Linked DNA regions of Homo sapiens: region 2 is linked to region 1. The links are contacts of gene promoters, found by promoter capture Hi-C in blood cells and fetal thymus (Javierre and others, 2016). All regions are on one chromosome and are shown on one strand. The core of a region is centred on a gene start or on the middle of the fragment in contact, and the rest is flanking DNA. Distances in the headings are between cores, read along the strand shown. Region 1 holds the start of MAD1L1 (mitotic arrest deficient 1 like 1). Region 2 overlaps ELFN1 (extracellular leucine rich repeat and fibronectin type III domain containing 1).

What was found. The method cuts DNA at HindIII sites, captures the fragments that hold promoters and counts their contacts. A CHiCAGO score of 5 or more calls a contact.
Region 2: a fragment that was not itself captured here is called in contact with the fragment with the promoter of MAD1L1 in region 1 in 1 of 17 cell types (M2 macrophages); the score reaches 5.6 in M2 macrophages.

The regions. Positions count from the first base shown.
Region 1 is chr7:2,231,562-2,234,325 of GRCh38, forward strand. It overlaps MAD1L1 (mitotic arrest deficient 1 like 1), which reads right to left and starts at 1,384. Exons shown (of 19, transcript NM_001013836.2): 1 at 1,311-1,384. MRM2 (mitochondrial rRNA methyltransferase 2) reads right to left here. Exons shown (of 3, transcript NM_013393.3): 3 at 2,634-2,764. RefSeq lists silencers at 883-1,302, 1,280-1,658 and enhancers at 1,293-1,587, 1,373-1,502, 2,237-2,764. The HindIII fragment of the contact is 9,650 bases long and covers 457-2,764 here.
Region 2 is chr7:1,703,255-1,706,018 of GRCh38, forward strand. The region is part of intron 2 of ELFN1 (extracellular leucine rich repeat and fibronectin type III domain containing 1); the gene reads left to right. Among named protein-coding and RNA genes, the nearest start is that of LNCRI, 10 kb to the left of the region's middle. RefSeq lists enhancers at 1,565-2,274, 2,275-2,764. The HindIII fragment of the contact is 7,510 bases long and covers 1-2,764 here.

The DNA of each region.
Region 1 (2,764 bases), core at 134-2,633:
GCGCCACTGCATTCCAGCCTGGGTGCCAGAGCAAGACTCCGTTTCAAAAAATAATAATAATTAATTAAAAAAAAAATCTGGCCTCTGGGAATCAGAAACGAGGCATGCAACAGTGACAGTAAAGATGATGATCATCACAGCTGTGCTCATTTTCATTGTTTATTTCTAGTGACATTAATAAGTACTACTACTATTTTCAACTAGGTATCAGAAAGAAAGGTATCTGACATTTCCGAGCACCGAGACTTCTTGAACTTCAGTTTCCTCATCTGTAAACTCATGACAGTGAAATCTACTTGCAAAGTTGTGGGGAACGGGGCCAATATCCCTCAAGTCTTCCACCGCTAGATGATGGGAATACGGCTGCAGGTTGACCAGCACTATATTTGTAAGCTCAGTCTCAACAGGGTGGTGAATTAGGTCTTTTTACACAGATTCTAGAGATGATGAAACCGAAGCTTCAAAAAGTTACAGAACGGAGATTGGAACTTGGGTCTGTCTGGCTTTGGAAGGCTGAAGACAAACCGCAGTAAAGAACTTTGCACCCCCAACACCGGCGCTTACTATGGGCTCATGGCAGGCCGGCCCACCAGCCACAACTAGGGAACAGCCAAGCGCGTTTAAAAGCCAAAGGTAGAACTTCTGCAGCTGCACAGTTTCTGAGTTTCCATTTAACAAGAACCTTGGCCTGGTGCAAGCAGAGGCCTGAGCTCCCCAGGCTGCCAGCCCCGCAGAGGCAGGCCCGCCTGGAAGGAGGCTCCACAGCCCAATTCCTCCATTGCCCAAACGAGATCAGGGTGGCCCTTGCCATCCCCGAGGGGAAACCGGGCCCACACGCCCCCTTCCTGAGAGCGGACCGGCGCGAGCCACCAGGATGCCAAGAGCCCCTGCAGCCCCGACTTCTCCACCAGGCGCCAGCTCAGGCCCCTTCCTCGGCGCGCCGGCACCCTAGCCCGGGGACCCACACGGTAGGCAGCGGGACCCCGGGGCTGGGACCACGAGCACGCGCCCCTCGGCCGCCCGCCCTGGCACAAGGGACGGCTGCGGAGACCCAGGCGAGGGGCCCGCTGTCCCCAGCACAGCCCAAAGGGGGAGTGGGGACAGGGGAGTGGGGAGAGGAGGGGAGAGCACAGAGAGGAGAGCGCGCCCATGGGAGACGGGGCGGGCGCGGGGTCCTGAGGCACGGGGTCTGGGTCGTTGTGCCCCACCCTGGCGAGCACACCCGGTCCGGGCCCTCGGCCCCTCCCTTGCCATTCCCGGGACCCCCGGGACCCCGGGACCCCGCCGCCCGCGCGAGCCGGGCCGCTTACCTCAGCCGCTCGCAGCCAGCTTGCCGCCGCCGCTCGGATCTCCCTCCGCTCCGCCGGCGCCCATTTATCGCGACACTTGCGCCTGCGCTCTCGCGAGACCTGCGTGGCAATCGGGCCGTAAAGAACCGAGTCTGCGCACCGGCTGATCCTGGGGACTCCGCGTCCGCACCCGGAGCCGCCACCCCTGGGAGACTCCGCACGGAAAGGACTCGGAACCGAAGGCTGAGCCAAGGCGCAGTCGGGGGCCCCCCGGCTTTGCGCAGGACGCGCTTCCACTAAGGCTTTCGCCTCGCGCCGTAATGTGTGGAATAGCCGCGCCCACGGCAGCCTCCTCGGACAAACTTGCACCGTTGACTCTTCCCAAAATTTTGCTACTCAGTATCAGCTTGAATCAATCCGTTATTTTGCTTTTTTCTGGGCCCACTAGAAATGCAATTTATGCTACTAGGCTACCTTCCCAGTGCTCTGCAAGCCAGGGCACAGCATCCAATGGGGTGAGGTCAGGCCCCACCATTATTATGGTAACCTTTGTCTATCCTTCAAATTGGAGCCTTCCTGAGAAGAGTGTGCCTTACTCGTTTCCATATTCTCTTCCTCTCCTCCTCCCGTCTCTGCCCAGCCCCTGGCTTCCCTCTAAGAAGATGCTGTTCCTAAGGGTCTGCAATGAATTTTCCTTCTTTCAGAGAAAGACTTCCAAGTTGTGTGCCCCGGGAATGAAATGGAATAAGAGAACGAGGTGGAGTAGGGCAAGAGTCCCTGGACTTAACAACCTGACTGCAACCAGAAATAAAATGAAAAGTCAAAACATCTGGCGGCCGGGCGCGGTGGCTCACGCCTGTAATCCCAGCACTTTGGGAGGCCGAGGCAGGCGGATCACGAGGTCAGGAGATCGAGACCATCCTGGCTAACACGGTGAAACCCCGTCTCTACTGAAAATACAAAAAAAAAAAAAAAAAATAGCCGGGCGTGGTGATGGGCGCCTGTAGTCCCAGCTACTCGGGAGGCTGAGGCCGAATGGCGTGAACCCGGGAAGTGGAGCTTACAGTGAGCCAAGATCACTTCACTGCACTCCAGCCTGGGTGACAGAGTGAGATTCTGTTTCTCAAAGAAAAAAAAAAATCAAAACATCTGACCCGCAGTTTCCTTCGGGGAGCTGGACAGAGCCCCAGATTCCTGATGGAGATTCCTGGGTTTCCAGACTTCCCCCACTGGTCCTTGGAATTTAATCATAGTCAACAAACTCTTCTTGAGGGATGAGTACACCTCCAGGAAATGGCTTTGAGGAAGCCAGTTTAAAAAAAACAAAACTTCAAAGCATGAAAGTACCTTAAAATAATGCAATCTCTATTATTTTATTAAATATAAAGCTGCGTCAAGTTCCTAGATGAGTAAAAGAAAATAAACACACCACATCACTGCTTGCTTTGGCAATTACATTTATGTTCTTGGGAGCC
Region 2 (2,764 bases), core at 80-2,579, 530 kb before region 1:
GAACGAGTTCTTTACATAATGAAGATAGTTATCATTTATCTGTCACATTCGCCACAAATATCTTTCCCTCTCTGCTATACAGCTTTTAATTTGGGTTACTTTTTGTGTTCCTTTTTCTTATTTTTATTTGGTCAAATCTGCCTCCTTTTTCTTTTAAAATTTATTCTCTTCCTTCTGAGCTTGGAAAGCCTGTTTCCCTCCTGAGAACTGATAAGTATTGAATTCTGTTTTCTTCCAGCTTTTTTATGGCTTAATATTTCATATTTAACTGCTTACCCCGTCTGGAATTTGTGGGGCTGTGGGGTGTGAAGTGAGGAGTTAATTGCCGCTTGCAGTTTACCAGGGGATGGGGCCTCATTTGCACTTCCAAGTCTCTGGGCTCAGCTTCCTCTGTCGGTGCTGAGCGGGGGAGATTAAAGGAAGCAGGGAGGTGGCATCTTGTGCGCTGGGATTGATTGTGGAGCCCTAATTACCACGGGGACAATCCTACTGGCAGCCTCTGCCTGAGTTTCAGTCCAAAGCAAAGAACTCTCGGCCGAGTTTAGCTACATCCAGTGTAACCTTGGGGAGGTCTCTGTGTATGTTTGAGACTCGGTTTCCCAGTCTGTGAAATGCGGGTACTGATGACACCTGTCCTGTAAGGGCTGTCGCCGGACTGTGTGCTGGGGGGTTTGTCCTGCAAAAAGCAAGGGGCCGGGAGGGCTCAGTACAAATCCCGGCTCTTCTGTGTGACCTTCAGCAAGAGGTGTCACTGCGGTGTGCCTTAGTTTCTCCATCTGAAAACAGGGATAATAAAGCTGGAGTTTCCACCTCCTCGTGGGGCTGGAGGATGGTTCTGCAAGTCAGCCCATGGGAGGGCCTGGCATTTGCCACAGGTGCACAACCGCTGTTGTTCTTGTTACGGCTGCCACTCAGGAGAAGGGAGCCTGCAGCCGGGCATGGTGGCCTCTGGGTGGGGGACCCTGCCAGCTGTGAGTGGGCTGGTGGGTGGGGCCACCTCCTTTTCCCAGCACCGATGGAGGCCATACTCTCCCCCTCCTCACCCCAAAACTGGGCTGTGGGGAATGGGCACCCAGAGACCCAGTCTCTTGGTCCTGATCCGGACAAAAGGACCAGCGTTGTCTGGAGAACCTACAATACACACACACAAGCACACAGACACTCACACATGCACACACAAGCACACCTGCATGCACACACACTCATGCATGTGCACACGTGCTCACACACAGCCAGACCCTCCGTAAACACATGGTGATACACACAAAGCCATGTGGGTCACTGGGTCTCGACTCCTCCCCACCCCAGGAGGCTCCACCTACAGCAGTACTAGGTGGGGGTCAGCTTGGGGTCCTGAGTGTGACCTGGGGTACGCAGTCAGATCACCCACTGCCCTTGCTTGGGAGTCCCGTCTCCCTCACTCTGAGACCCCACATCACGTCACCCCTGCGAGGTCAGTGCCAGGTCTGGGCACCCCTCCACAGCCAGGTGCCCAGCCCCCCAGTAGGGGGCAGGGACTTGAGTGGCAACGTCACCTGTCTGCTGAGGGCCTGCCTGCTGTATGCTGGGGTGTGGGCTGGGCAGGCCCCACACCAAGGGTCAGCCCTGTCCACCAGGGCTCGAGGTCAGCTTAGAGCCTCATGGAGCTCCCGGCTGGAGAGAAGGCAGCCGTGCGTGTCCCCGTCAGAATGTGGAGACGGGGACAGTGAGGATGGGCCCTGAACAGAGGAGCCAGCCTGGGTGGGTCTGCGAGAGGCTCCCAGGCAGAGGGCACAGCAAGTGCAGAGGGCAGAGGTGGAGACCTGCTGGGGTGGGGGGCGCGTACTGGAGAACAGAGGGACACCCAGTGGCCAAAGGGCAGAGCCCGCAGGAGGTAACAGCCTGAGGGCTGCAGGTCACACCCACAGGGCCAAGGGGTGGGCAGCATGGAGGTGCAGGGTGGCAGGGACCCTGGGCGGGGCGGCACAGCTGTGCGGGAGGCTGGGCTGCTGGCATCAGCAGGCGCCCCTCCTCCCCACCTCGCTAAACAATCATTGCACAAAATATGCAAATGGTATAATTACTGTTATTTGTTTTGCTGATATAAGTGTTTGAAATGCAAATGTCAAGTTTGGGCGCCTTCATTTTTCCAACCCTCTCACCCGGACATTTGCAAGTTGATGAGTTGTTCTTCATCCTGGAAGGAGGAGGAGGAGCTCCCCCCAACCGCCAGGGTGCCAGGGGAGTGAGTCCAGCGTGGCAGCCGCCACTGCCTGCCCGAGGGCACTGCTGGGCCCCCCTTCCGACGGCACACAGTGGGCACCTCAGATGGCAGGCCTCACAGCCTCACCATGCACCTGTGTGATCAGCCACTCGGAGCCTCAATTTACCCTCGCCTCTGGGGGCTGCTGTCCCTCTGGGCCCTTGCCCTTTCTGGCCCTGCCCTTTCTGGCTCATGGCAATTCAGTGGATGGCTTTGGGCCTCGGTTTCCTGTCCACAACATCCTGCACAGATTTGTTGCCCTTCTGTAAAGTAGAGTCTTAGTGTCCCGGGATGGTCCTCGGGGAGGTCTGATGAGCCCCCGAATATCACAGACAAAACTGCCTGTGTATTTTCCAGGGTGGGTTCTTAGCTTTGACCCCTCCAGCCCAGTGGTCTCTGAGGTTCCCCAGCCTGCGGTTCCAGACGAGATTGAACTGTGAGCCTTCACCCTGACAAAGGGATGGTCACGATCGTCCTTGTTCTACAGGGAGGGAAACTGAGGCACAGCATTCCAGGGGCTTG